3 separate regions of the Homo sapiens genome follow, and regions 2 and 3 are each linked to region 1. Evidence: promoter capture Hi-C in 16 types of primary human blood cells and fetal thymus (Javierre and others, 2016). All regions are on one chromosome and are shown on one strand. The core of a region is centred on a gene start or on the middle of the fragment in contact, and the rest is flanking DNA. Distances in the headings are between cores, read along the strand shown. Region 1 holds the start of GLB1 (galactosidase beta 1). Region 2 overlaps PDCD6IP (programmed cell death 6 interacting protein). Region 3 has its middle 7.2 kb from the start of PDCD6IP-DT.

The links. The method cuts DNA at HindIII sites, captures the fragments that hold promoters and counts their contacts. A CHiCAGO score of 5 or more calls a contact.
Region 2: a contact is called between a fragment that was not itself captured here and the fragment with the promoter of GLB1 in region 1, in 1 of 17 cell types (total CD4 T cells). The highest score is 5.2, in total CD4 T cells.
Region 3: a contact is called between a fragment that was not itself captured here and the fragment with the promoter of GLB1 in region 1, in 3 of 17 cell types (total B cells, erythroblasts and naive B cells). The highest score is 8.1, in total B cells.

What each region holds. Positions count from the first base shown.
Region 1 is chr3:33,094,846-33,099,408 of GRCh38, reverse strand. GLB1 (galactosidase beta 1) reads left to right here and starts at 2,263. Exons shown (of 16, transcript NM_000404.4): 1 at 2,263-2,398. The coding sequence starts at 2,324. It overlaps TMPPE (transmembrane protein with metallophosphoesterase domain), which reads left to right and starts at 2,263. Exons shown (of 2, transcript NM_001039770.3): 1 at 2,263-2,690. RefSeq lists a silencer at 2,066-2,675. The HindIII fragment of the contact is 8,101 bases long and covers 734-4,563 here.
Region 2 is chr3:33,806,981-33,811,543 of GRCh38, reverse strand. All of the region lies in intron 1 of PDCD6IP (programmed cell death 6 interacting protein), which reads right to left. Among named protein-coding and RNA genes, the nearest start is that of PDCD6IP, 11 kb to the right of the region's middle. The HindIII fragment of the contact is 826 bases long and covers 1,508-2,333 here.
Region 3 is chr3:33,789,043-33,793,605 of GRCh38, reverse strand. No RefSeq gene overlaps it. Among named protein-coding and RNA genes, the nearest start is that of PDCD6IP-DT, 7.2 kb to the left of the region's middle. RefSeq lists an enhancer at 3,460-4,357. The HindIII fragment of the contact is 4,076 bases long and covers 39-4,114 here.

The sequences.
Region 1 (4,563 bases), core at 1,014-3,513:
AAAGTTGAAAAAAAGAGTAAAAATAATTCCTTCATTGATTTTCCAAATGTTAACATTTTACCACATTTGCTTTTCTTTCTCACGTTCTTTTCATGCCTGGAATACCATTTCTCTCCCTCTCTCTCTCTCTCTTTCTCTCTCTCTCCATTTTTTTTTGTGAACTGTTTGAGAATCAGTTGCAAAGATGATGCCCTTTTGTTTCCTAAAAAACAAGGATGTTCTTTTATATAACCATTACCAAAATTACCATTACCGTTACCCAAATCAATACACTAATACAAAACTATTATTTAATATTTAGACCGTGTACCATTATCAAAATCAGAAAGTTAACATTGATGCGGCCGGGCACAGTGGCTCATGCCTGTAATCCCAGCACTTTGGGAGGCCGAGGTGGGCAAATCACTTGAGGTCAAGAGCTCCAGACCAGCCTGGCTAACATGGTGATACCCCATCTCTACTAAAAATACAAAAATTAGCCAAGCCTAGTGGTGGGTGCCTGTAATCCCAGCTACTTTGGAGGCTGAGGTGGGAGAATCACTTGAACCTGGGAGGCGGAGGTTGCAGTGAGCCGAGATTGTGCCACTGCACTCCAGCCTGGGTGACAGAGTGAGACTCTGTCCCCCCACCCCCCCAAAAAGGAAATTAACATTGATGCATGGTACTAATCTAACCTACAAGTCTAATTCTGATTTCATCAACTGTCCCACTAACATCCTGTATATACCAAGCTTCTTATCGTCATCATCTCTGGTAATTTCCCCAATTATCCAGTGAATTTGATATTATTAGCCCTGCTTTACCAACAAAGAAACTAAGCTCAGAGAGGTTAAGTAATTTGCCCACAGTTACACAGACAGTAAGTGGCAGAGCTGGAATTCCAACTCAAGTGTACTTCCTCCAGAGCCCTTGTTCTTTAATACTGAACTAGAATTGCAGAGCTTGGAAAGGACTTCACAGTGCAAGGACACGGAATTGGTACTACAGGCATGAAAAGAAGCCAGGCACGGTGGCTCATGTCTGTAATTCCAGCATTTTGGGAGTTCCAGGCAGGTAGATTGCTTGATCCCAGAACTTCAAGACCTGCCTGGGAAACGTGGTGAGACCCTGTCTCTACAAAAAATACAAAAATTAGCCGGGTGTGGTGGCGCACGCCTGTAGTCCCAGCCACTTGGTAGGCTGAGACGGGAGAATTGCTTGAGCCCAGGAGGCCAAAGCTGCAGTAAGCCGTGATTGCGCCCCACTCCAGCCTGGGTGACAGAGTGAGACCCTGTCTCAAAAAACACAAAAACAAAACAAAAAAACAACCCCCCAAACCAAAAAACAAAAACCTAAGAAAAGCCAGTAACTGATACTTTCTCAATCTCTCAATGAAATGTCCTTTCTGATACTTTCTCAATCTCTCAAGGACATGTCCGGTAGGAAAGGAGAAAGGAGTGAACAAATAGAATTTTGGCTACTTTGTTATACAATGTAAAAAGGCTTTTTGGAACACCAAGGCATAAACTAAGGTTATTTTAAAAAAGAAAATTTTTTTTTGATACGGAATTTCGCTCTTATTGCCCAGGCTGGAGCGCAATGGCTCGATCTCGGTTTACTGCAACCTCCACCTCCCGGGTTCAAGCGATTCTCCTGTCTCAGCCTCCTCAGTAGCTGGGATTACAGGCGCCTGCCACCACGCCCGGCTAATTTTTGTATTTTTAGTAGAGACGGGGTTTCATCATACTGGTCAGGCTGGTCTGGAACTCCTGACCTCAGGCGATCCGCCCGCCTCGGCCTCCCAAAGTGCTGGGATTACAGGCGTGAGCAGGATTTTCATTCTAACAAGTTCCAGGTGAGTTGATACAGTGGCTCCAGGGACCGACCACATTTTGCTAACCCCCGGCTTAGAGTTATTCAAAGAGCCCGTATATGAGACGCGGATTCCATCTAGGGCGTTTAGGTTTAATGATTAACAATTTCCCTCTTCTGCTCTCTCAAGGCAGCCAGGGAACAGGGAGACCATGATTCATGTCCAATCCCCGAGGCGCGTTATCAAGCTGCTGAAAGCAGGCCCTCCGGACTGCAGTTCCAAAGGGTCCCTTCCCAGGGAAGACGCCTGCAAAACCCAGATAGTACTATCCTGGAGTCACGCGGCGGCGCGCAGCCTCCTAGCCGCCCCCACCCGCCCGGCTCGGCCACAGCGGGGCGGGGCGCGGGGCTGAGCAGGCGCGAGGGCTGGCTGCTGGGCCGACGAGGGGCGGTGCCAGGCCGTGGGTCCTTAGTCAAGTGACGCGAAGCGGCCGGCCTGGGCGCCGACTGCAGAGCCGGGAGGCTGGTGGTCATGCCGGGGTTCCTGGTTCGCATCCTCCCTCTGTTGCTGGTTCTGCTGCTTCTGGGCCCTACGCGCGGCTTGCGCGTAAGTCTGCGGGACCCGGGTACGGGGAGGCATTGCTAGGGGACAGGCTGGCGGGGAACCGGGCTGGGGTCGCAGCCACCCGCGGTCCCGCAGGGCGGGGAGCCTGAGCCCCGAAGTGCCCCCCAGCAGGCTCGCGGCCGGCGGAACGCAGGCAGTGGACCGGCCTTCCCGTCGGGGGCGGGCCGGGCGGGGCGCGCGTCCTTCCAGGCAGCTCGGTCGCTTGTGCGTTCCGCTCCGGCCGCCCTTTGCGCTTGGATCCACTTCCCCATCTGTAACGAGGTGTTGAGACGAGGTGCGTGTAAACATTTCCTAAGTTGGCTTTCCGGGAGGGGATTCCAAGTTGCGCGGGTTAGAGGGTGCCTCCGGCTCTGGTTTGGGGCGCCCTCGCTTTCCCAGTTGGTGCTCTGCGGAGCGCTCCGGAAGGAGAAAAATGGGGTCAGGAGAGGCCCTTGCAGTGGGAACATTGGGTTATTTCCCCTCTGGGTGCTCTCCCTCTTCGTGCATCTTGTTCCTTTCTCACCACTCCCCGTCGCCTGCCCTTTGGCTTGGGTTTTTCTTTGTATTTGTGGGACCGTTTTCCTTCGGCGTTTGGGGGTCCAGGTTGAGGGGGGGAATAGGCAGGCTGCCGGGGGATGCCATCGTTGATCGGGGCAGGGCTGGCGAGGCGAATAGGTGAGGTGCGGGGCGTGCACAGTTGGTGGGAGAGGAAGGACAGCTTCACTCGCTGCGTCCGAGCTGAGGCGACTGGCTGAGGGGCTCCAAAGCGCTGCCTGGGGAGGTTTGCATCACACCTGCGGAAAGGAGAGTGGGTAGTTGCAAGCTGCTCCTCTGCACGTTCCGCGGACCAACTTTGGTTCCTCCAGGGTGTAGGTGGGCTGAGCCTGCAGTATGCTTTAAGTAAGAGCTGGTAGCATTTGACACCGTTGACTTGTAAGTTACACCCTTTAATAACGCTTTCAATAACGTGCCTAGGGCAGAGAAAAGTGGTACATTTATCTACAACCAAGATTGAACATCTTAAGTATTTGGAAAACAGCTGCTGAAAATGTTTTCATTTTGGGAAAAAGTCAGCACAGATTATTTGCTGCTCCCTCTTCACCCCGTCTGTGGTTCCCCTACCCCAGTATGTAGACAGAGTTTTCTTGTCCAGAAGGCCCGTAGGACCTTAGGAGTCAGAGCTAGCCAGCTGTGAGAACCACTGGGGAAGGTGGAACTGGGGCACAGTTCAGGAGAACAGTGGCAGGGTAAGGGGCTAGGGGAAAGGCAGATCTTAACCAGTATCTGGGAGTGGGGGTAGGGAGAGAGAGAAGGATTTATGAACCAGGAACAGGTGGACAGGGTCAATCTGTCTGATGTGAGCTCATCAGTCTTGTGCAGCGTCATTGGGTCAGGGTGGATGCCCTGTGGCTGCCATACCTGAGGCCCACACAGGGAGGCTGGCATCACCCCAGGAATTCTCATTTCAGGTGCCTAGGTGTCCCTCTTGGGCTTCTGTGCCCACAGCTAAAGAAAGATACCAGCAGTCTAGCTTTCCATTATCTCCTTGTTTACATTTCTTTAGGGTTCACGCCATTCTCCTGCCTCAGCCTCCCGAGTAGCTGGGACTACAGGCGCCCGCCATCACACCCGACTAATTTTTTTCTTTTTTTGTATTTTTAGTAGAGACGGGGTTTCACCATGTTAGCCAGGATGGTCTCGATCTCCTGACCTCGTGACCCAGCGGTTCTCAAATTTTAACTAAATTTTAGCTGTCCTAGAAATTAAGAGAATATTCCTTTTTTTTTTTTTTTTTTTTTTTTTGAGACAGAGTCTCGCTCTTTTGCCCAGGCTGGAGTGCAGTGGCACGATCTTGGCTCACTACAACTTCCACCTCCCAGGTTCAAGTGATTCTCCTGCCTCAGCCTCCCGAGTAGCTGGGATTACATGCATCCACCACCATGCCTGGCTAATTTTTGAATTTTTAGTAGAGACAGGGTTTTACCATGTTGGCCAGGCTGGTCTTGAACTCCTGACCTCAGGTAATCTGCCTGCCTCGGCCTCCCAAAGTGCTGGAATTATAGGCGTCAGCCACTGTGCCCAGCCCTAGAGAATATTTTAAACTATTTGTTAAGAAATACTACATCATTACACGTTAATAAACAATATATATATTTGAAAAACAATAG
Region 2 (4,563 bases), core at 671-3,170, 710 kb before region 1:
AGCCAGAATGATCACAAAATATAAAGCAGACTTCCCCCCATCAGGGTGAGCTGTCAGTCAGCAAGTCTGGCAGGGAAAGGAGGAGAAAAGGGTCAGGCCAAGCTTTCTAACTGGCCTCTAATCTTTCCTCCTTTCCTTTTTCCCTTATACTTCCCCCACCCCTTCATCAGGGGTATTTTTGTAATGATTATTTCTGGGGGCAAATTTTCAGCAGGAGTGGGCAACATATCTGAGACCAAGCTTTTGGCTGGCATGGCTATGAGTTTGGTTATAAACAGGAAAAACTATCCAATTAAGTAAATACATTGAAGATAATGGAAGCCAAGTTTCCCAAGGTCAGAGATACAAATACCTGAAAGGGCCAGGCACAGCAGATCACGCCTGTAATCCTAGCACTCTGGGAGGCTGAGGCAGGTGGATCACTTGAGCCCAGAGTTCGAGACCAGCCTAGGAAACACAGCAAAACCCTGTCTCTACTAAAAATACAAACATTAGCCAGGCATGGTGGCGCACACCTGTGGTCCCAGCTACTCATGAGGCTGAGGTGGGAGGATCACTTGATCTGGAGGTCATGGCTGCAGTGGGCCAAGACAGCGCCACTGTACTCCAGCCTGGGCAAGAACCTGTCTCAAAAAAAAAAAAAAAAATCCACAAACATGAGAAGGCAGAAGGTTAGAATAACTCCACAGTTTTAAACTGGAACTGGAGATATCAATGTGAACTTTTTTTGTTTGTTTACAGACAGGGTATCATTCTGTTGCCCAGGCTGCAGTACAGTAGCACAATCACAGTACACGGTAACCTTGAACTCCCAGGCTCAAGCAATCTGCCCACTTTAGCCCCTGAGCTGCCAGGACTACAGGTGCATGTCACCACACCCAGCTAGTTTTTAACTCATTTTTTAAAGGTAGCAGAGAGAAATAAAAACAAGTATAAATGTGTAACTATGTATTTCCTAAATGTATATGCTAAGAGGGCCTATAAGCAGTAACACTTCACAGTAGCAATAAGCACACCTACTGCCCAGATAATCTTTTGCATTAAAATGAGCCAAGTGCTCCTTAGAGAAATGGCTGACTCAAGGGCTGAGACTGAAAAAATTCAATATTCAAGTCTAAAACATCTTGCTATGCCAGAAAGTTAAGGAAGTACTCAAAAAATGATGAGGACATGTCAAAAGGGCACAGGAGGTAGCTTTAAGGGGCTCCCAATGGCTAAGCACTGAACCAATCTAAATAAAATAACAGTAAAAAATAAGAGCCCATTGAGGAAAAGACCACCATTCGGAGGTAAATAAACAGGTGAATAGGGAAAACTCTATCCTACGGTACCATAGTCTAGATGAAATTAGAAAAATTACCATTTGGTACCTTTCAGAGTATAATATCTAATTCTGGTAAGATTCATCAATAAATGATAAAATAATGAAAAGTGTGTAATGAAACAGGATATTACATAGTCCCAAAGTATCTCCCCACAAAATATTTACTAATTAGTACAACAAGCTTATTAACTGTAAGGTCAAGAAACCTGGCAAACACCATCTTAACCAAGCGATAAAAATAAACATTACCACTACAGAACAAATCCACATCTTATTTTTCCTGATATGCACTAGAAAGAACACAGCATCACTTCGCTGGTACTCCTATGCAAAAATGCAGAAATCACAAGAAAATGAGACAAGCCTTTATTGAGGAAAATTCTAAAAAGTAATTAGCCTGTACTCTTCAAAAATGTCAAGGTCATGAAAGACGAGAAAAACTGAAGAACTGGTCCAGATTGAAGGAGATTAAAGAGACGTAACAATTAAATGCACTGCATGATTCTAGATTAGATCCTGAACCTGTAAATAATATTAGGAAAATCAGCAATATTTGAATGAATTCTACAGATTAAATGGTAATAATGAATCAATGCCAACTTCCTGACTTTGAAAGTTGTACTATGGTTATACAGGAGAATATCTTTGTACTCAGGAAATAAACTCTGAAGTATTAAGTACTGAAACCCTTTGGTGGATTCCCATTACACTTAAAATTACATCCAAAAATGTTGAAGGTCTTACAGGATATGGCTATCATCCAACTCTCCAGCCTCATCTCAGGATATTCACTATACATTCGAGTCACTAAATTATAGGCTCTCCTTGCTCAGGGCCTTCACTCTTTTTACCACCATTTCTCACTATTGTCTAGGCTGACATTGTTATCAAAGAAAGTTTTCCTCATTCATTCATTCAACAAATATATACTAAGAGCTTACTATGCACCAGTTTTAGGACATTAAGAATTTAGCAGTAAACATCTAAAAATCTGTGCTCTTGTGAAGCTTTTAGAGGGGAAGACAAAAAAGCAAAAATATTATATAGAAGACAGTGGTAAGTGCCATGGAGAATAAAGAGACAAGAGGAATAAAGTGAATATATGAGGAGAGGTAAGAAGGTTGTCGTTTTAAATAACATGGTCATTTGACTACATGAAAAAAAGTTTTAACTCTAAAACAGCATGACCATAAAAGGCATGAAAAAGGTGATGAGGTGAGCCAAGCAGATATCTGAGAATTTCCAATCTAGGGAAAATCAAGTGCCAATACCCTGGGACAAGAGGGTACTTAAGAATGTATCTGGCATGGCAAGGAGACCAATATGATCATAGAGTGAGCAAGGGAGAAAATAGTAAGTGATGAAGTCAAAGAAGTAATGATGCCTTGAGTGCAACTGTAAGACTTCTGAGTTTTACTATATAGTGTAAGAGTGTGAATCATCAAAAGGTTTGGACAAAACAGCAATATGACTTATTTTCATACAGTCACCATGACTGTTGTGTAGAAAACTGACTGCAGGTGTGCACGAGCAGAAGTAGAGAGATCAGTTAGGAAGCTACCGTAGTAATCCAGTCAAGAGATGATGCTAGCACGGATCAATGGAGTCCACGGTGGCAGCAGAAGTGATAAAGTTAATCTAGGCCAGGCGCTGTGGCTCATGCCTGTAATCCCAACACTTTGGGAGGCTGAGGTAGGAGGATCACCTGAGCCTAGGGGTTTGAGACCACCCTGGGCACATAGTGAGACCTCATCTTTACACATACATACACACGTCAGCCAGGTGTGGTGGTGGGCCTACAGTCCCCCAAAGGGACTATGCAGCGGGATAAGGTGGGAGGATCACTTGAGCCCAGGAGGTCAAGGCTGAAGTGAGCTGTGATCCCACCACTGTACTCCAGGATGGGCCATGGCGTGAAATCTTGTCTCAAAAAAATACAGTCAATGTAACCCCTTTTTAAAATTAGTTGCCCCTCCATTTATAATCTCTCAGGTCCCTGAACATTTTCTTCATAGGATTTAACACAATTTGTGATATATTATTGGTGGGATTATGTTTATTGTCTTTTCTCTCAAAGGATTCTAAATTCCATGAAAGCAAAGACTAGATCTATTTGCTCTCTGTTTTGTTGCTAGCCCCAAGCAAATGAATCGGTAAAATGCAAAGTTTTCTTCTATCTCTGAAAAATAAAACCTAAAATTCTGGTTTGTGAATGAACAGGAGCTATCAAAGAACAAGCCCATAAGAAGGGAACAGCAAGTGCTAAAGGTCTGAGGCAACAACGCCTAAAGGTGTGCTTGGCACAGCAAGGAGGCCAATATGGCTATAAAGCCAGGACTGGCAAACTTTTTCTGAACAGTGATATTCTAGACTCTGCTGGGAAAAAGGCTAAATCAAGCATATAATAAGTATGTAACTACTTATATAACAAGAGGAAAAACCCCTGCCCTGCCCTGTACCTTTTTTGCCTAGGTTGGGCCATCCCAAAATTGTGGCACACGGCTGCCCAGGTGCCATCCTGGAGACATTCTCCAAAGAAAAAGTACCTGTCTGATGGAAAGGAGCCATAGGGAGACAGGAGGAGTGACCAACATGGTCAGTTTTACTCTACCCCAATGAGATCAAAATTCTCAGGGAGAGTCTACTGTGGGCACCTGCCCCAGGGGGCCGTAGGTGAGATAATTTGCTGAGTCACCAATTTCCAGACTGAGATTATACCATTTAGTGCCAAGCCAACGCCAAGCAGAATATTTACTCTGGTGTAGGCAGCACCACAGTAAGTCTGGGCAGCAATAAAGCATGGCCACTGGCCAGGGTGACAGGAGCTAGAAGCAAAGGGGAGAATGGAACAGAGGCAAACAGCTAAGCTAGTTCTCCAACACTCACAATGCTAACCCACTGGAGTGGTGCTCACAGGCCATACAAAAACAGGCAGCTGAGCAGGCCTTATTTTGCTGACCCTTGCTATAAAGTAAACAAGGAAGGGAGTAGTAGGAAATGAGGTTACTTCCTCTGCAAATGGGTGAGGAAAAGAAGAATGGCTAAACTGAATGCACTAAAATTTTTATACCCATTCTCTTCACCCCAAAGTTTTTGAGGCCAACTAACAAAACCTGAGCTGTATGGGGGGAACAGGGCATTTATATCCTGTAACTGAATGATTAGAAGCTATGTGATGAAACCCTCAAAGTAAAATGGCTATCTTAGGACAGATTATAGAAGTTGAAATAAAAGTACAA
Region 3 (4,563 bases), core at 827-3,326, 690 kb before region 1:
ATAACCATACATTAAATGAAAACCAAATCCTACAAGCTTCATGGTACAAAGTTTTGGTAATACTTGGATGACCAGACTAAGTTATTCAGCAGATATTTTTTGAGCTTATACTGTGTGCCAAACAAAATGTAGTTCAAGAGAATTCTATGACCAATCTATTAATCTATTGTATATATTTACAGAGGTCTTTAATCCACCCTTATATAAGGTAGTTCAGCAAACAGTTCATAGGAGGAGGTCTAGGAAAGCAGTTAAGGAAAGTCCTAAAATGGCAGCTCTGCAGCAAGCAGAAAGTACAACTAGCCCAGAATAAGGAGAGGGTGGAGGGGCGCAGGAGGAAGATCCAATAGAGGGAAAAAAAAGGTTGAAGGGATTAGATAGAATAAAAACCACCAGGGTTCTCGTTGGAAAAATTATTCTTTTCCCTTTGTAATTAACAACTAATTTGTGGGAATATAATTCGAGGCTATTAAACATACTGTTCCACATTAAACTTTCTTCCACTAGTTTTAGCATACTTCGATGATTCTTCCATGAATCTAATATTTCTGTGATGATTGCAAAATGGTAATTTTCTTATCCATTATTCTGCCTATATCTATTAGCTGACATTATTCTAGAAAGAAGAATTTTCTTTTCTCCCTTATTTATTCATTTATATGTTTATACCAGCATGGACCCATAGATTTTTATTTAATTTGGTAGATTATAATCTGTTATTATTATTTATTTTGACGCTCAGATTGTCCAAGATTTGACTGATATGAACACCCTCAAGCTGGCTCCTGTGTTCTTTTTCTTCCAATATTTTCTTTTCTTTTCTTTTCTCTTCTTTTCTTTGTTTTTTTGTTTTGTTTTTTTGAGACAGGGTCTGGCTCTTTTGCCCAGGCTGGAGTGCAGTGGTGCAGTCATGGCTCACTACACCCTCAACCTTCCAGGCCCAGGCTCAAGCAATTATCCTACCTCAGCCTCCCAAGTAGCTAGGACTACAGGTGCACACTACCATGCCCGGCTAATTTATTTGTTTATTTTTTGTAAAGACGGAATATCCCTATGTTGCCGAGGCTGGTCTCAAACTCCTGGACTCCAGGGATTCTCCTGCCTCAACTTCACAATTCATTTTTAAAATTTCAGCCACAGCATAGAGTTTTGCAATAAACACTCACCTACCCACCACCTAGATTCTAACATTAACATTTTACTATGCATGCTTTATCTCACATTTGTCCATCTAATCTTCCCTCTATCCACCCATAAATCTACCTTGCTTTTTGGATCCATTTCATAGTAAGTTGCAGTCATCAGAAAGGAAAAGTAAAATAAGTAAATTTATTGGTAAATAGGCAATTGATGGGAGTCAAAAGATATTTAAATGATATCAATGAATGTCACTTAAAGTTAAAAAATCGAATAGCAGAAGGAGGTAAAGAAAAAAGGAAGTAAAGAAAAAGACTTTTAAAATGACTCACAAAAGAAAACCCAATGTGATAGATTATAAAATTGGCCACAAACTCTTCCTCTCCCTTTATCATGATTTTGCAGTGTGACATTGCAGATCTTCCCACCAGGAAGTGGAGTCTTTTTCTGCACCCTTTAAGTCTAGGTCGTTGATGTGAGCTGCTTTGGCCAATGGGGCATTAGCAGTTGTGATGCAAGCAGACACTTCAGTCATCAGGGTTTGTCCTCTCTTACTGCACTTGCAACCCCGTGACCTCCATGTGTACCGTCTTGCCTGCTGGATTATGAGAGACGTGGTTGAGTCACTCTCCTAGCCCTAACCAACAGTCTGCTAATTGTCAGACATATGAACAAGGCTATCTTAGATCATCCAACAACCAGGCAACACCCTAGATGACCTCAGACACAGAAGCAAGCACCTGAGAGATCAACTGAGCCAATCTAGACCAGAACTGTTAAGCCAACCTACAGAATTATGAGCTAAATAAATGGCTGGTTTTTAAGTTTTGGCATGGTTTGTTATGCAACAGAAGCTAACTGATACACTATCATTATGGTACATGCAAGCAACATACCTAAAACAAAATGATTCAGAAAGGCTAAATAGAAAGGAATAGACAGACATACTAGGTGCTGTGGACTGAATGTGTACCCCCAACAGTCACTTCTTGAAATTCAGTTCCAAATGCGATGGTATTTGGAGGTGGGACCTTTGGAAGGTAATTAGATTGTGAGCACAGAGCCCTCATGAATAGGATTAGTGCCCTTCTAAGAAGAGACGCAACAGCACTTGCTTCCTCTCTCACTCTGCTATGTGAGGATACAGTAAAAAGGTGTCTATATGCAAAGCAGTAAGAGGGCACTCACCAAAACCCAATCATGCTGGTACCCTGCTCTTAGACTTCACATCCTCCATAACCGTAAGAAATAAATGTTGTTGAAGCCACCCAATCTATAACAGCTTGAACTAACTAAAACACCAGACAAATGGAAACAATAGGAGTGCAGGGTCGTTCTTTTGATATCAGACAATTCAGACCAAAAAGGCTTAAATGTAATTAAGGACATTTCATAATGCTAAAGGCTAAAATTATCCAGAAAAAAAAATGTAGCTAAAAGCCACAATAAAGATAAGAGTTTGAAATATCAAACTTTTGTATCAGCTAACCCAAAATATCTGTGTACCAAGTAACACAGCAACCACCATCATAAAAAAGAAACTATGGGATTACATTTCCAAGTAATAATTTCTTATCTTTGGCCAACTCTGTGAGTAGCTAAGGGAATTTTAAAAAGTGTTACTCAGGGATGATCCAAAGAAGATACATTTGGAAGCAAGATAGGTGGATTAAGTCTGTGCTGAATAATAATTTGTCATACCTCATTATAAGAGATGTGGCCATGGCCAGGCGTGGTGGCTCACACCTGTAATCCCAACACTTTGGGAGGCCGAGGAGGGCAGATCTCTTGAAGTCAGGAGTTTGAAACCAGCCTGGCCAACATGGTGAAAACCCAATTCTAATAAAAATACAAAAAAATTAGCCGGGCGTGATGGCAGGCGCCTGTAATCCCAGCTACCGAGGAGGCTGGGGCAGGAGAATCACTTGAACCCGGGAGGCAGAGGTTGCAGTGAGCTGAGATTGTGCACTACTGCCTGGGTGACAAAGCGAGACTCCGTCTCATAAAAAAGAGAGAAAGAGAGAGATGGCCTTGTAAAATTACAGGACAGAAGGACAGATGGGAAAATATGTATCTTCTACCTTGTGGTTAGGCTGTACTCTATGAAAATTAATATTTGTCCTTGGGAGATGGTGATTCAGCAGTCCCCTGCAGCACAGTCAGGAGAGCAAAGAAGTTCATTGATGACTCACAAGAGAAGTGAGTTCCTTCACCTGTCCTTTACTTTTTGGTGAAACCTGGATAAAGTTCCCCACGTTCTCCACCCTAACTTGGAATATAAGAGAACTCCTCTACTCTCACCCAGCACAGTCTCCCCCAGAGTATTATTCTAGCTTACTTGTTATTAAATGGGTAATTTTGCTCTCCAGTGGTCATTTTTGGTTGTCACAACTTGGTGGGAGAGGATGCTACTAGCCTCTAGTGGATAGAAGCTAGAGATGCTTCTAAACATTCTACAATGCACAGGACAGTCTCTCATAGCAAAAATATTATCCAGCCCTAAATGTCACTAGTACTAAGGGTAAAATTCGCTTGAAAAGCATATTACTCAGAACAGGCTCCAAATTTTGAGAAATATACCGCTAGGGGTATAGTCTGATCTATTTGGAAGGGGTGGGTTGTTCAGAGAATGAATAAAGTCTTGCTTTGAAAGGTGAGAAGAAGGAAGCATTGTTGCAGAGATATTGGCTCCTAAGAATAGGGGAGAAAAATAAGGAAGTGGAGTACATCAATGAGGGGTGAACTTCCAGAGGAATTTTCCATTAAACTAAAGAGAAATTTACTGCCATTTTCTTTATTGACCCCACCCTCATTAAAGGCAGAATGAAGGAACAAGACAGCAAAGAATGTGACTGGCCCCATGGAAAGGAAGTTGTATCCTATCCTGGGGACTCTGTCCAGATGTTCCAGGTGGTGACAAACAGCAACATAATATAGTGGTTTATGCAGACTTCTTCACACATGTGAGGAGCAAGCTTGGAAGTTCAAAGGGTTTGATGTAAGTTGCTCTGTCTGGTAGGCATTGTGGTTCTTCTACCTCCAATATACTTTCACCCATTCACCCCTCTCTGAAGTTAGTATCCTCCTGATCTCACCCTGGGTGTCCTCGCCTCTCCCTCTTTGTTCTTTGTCTTAAGCCTTAAGGGATAAGAATGTGGCTCAGGCCTTAGATCATTATCATAATCCCGTCCTCAAGCCCCAGTAGTACAGAAAAAAAAAAAATGACCCAATTCTGACTATAGAGATGTAAAAAGAGGTTTGCCAGAGATAACAGAGAAGGAAGCTTCTTAGCTCTTTTGAGGGAATTTCTGAAAGTTACCCCACTCTCTAGATGTGGCTGAAAAAAAGTATCTCTGTGTATTAGGGTTCTTGCACACAATAGAAATGAACTGTGGATAATTTAAGCAGAAAGCAAATTTATTAAAG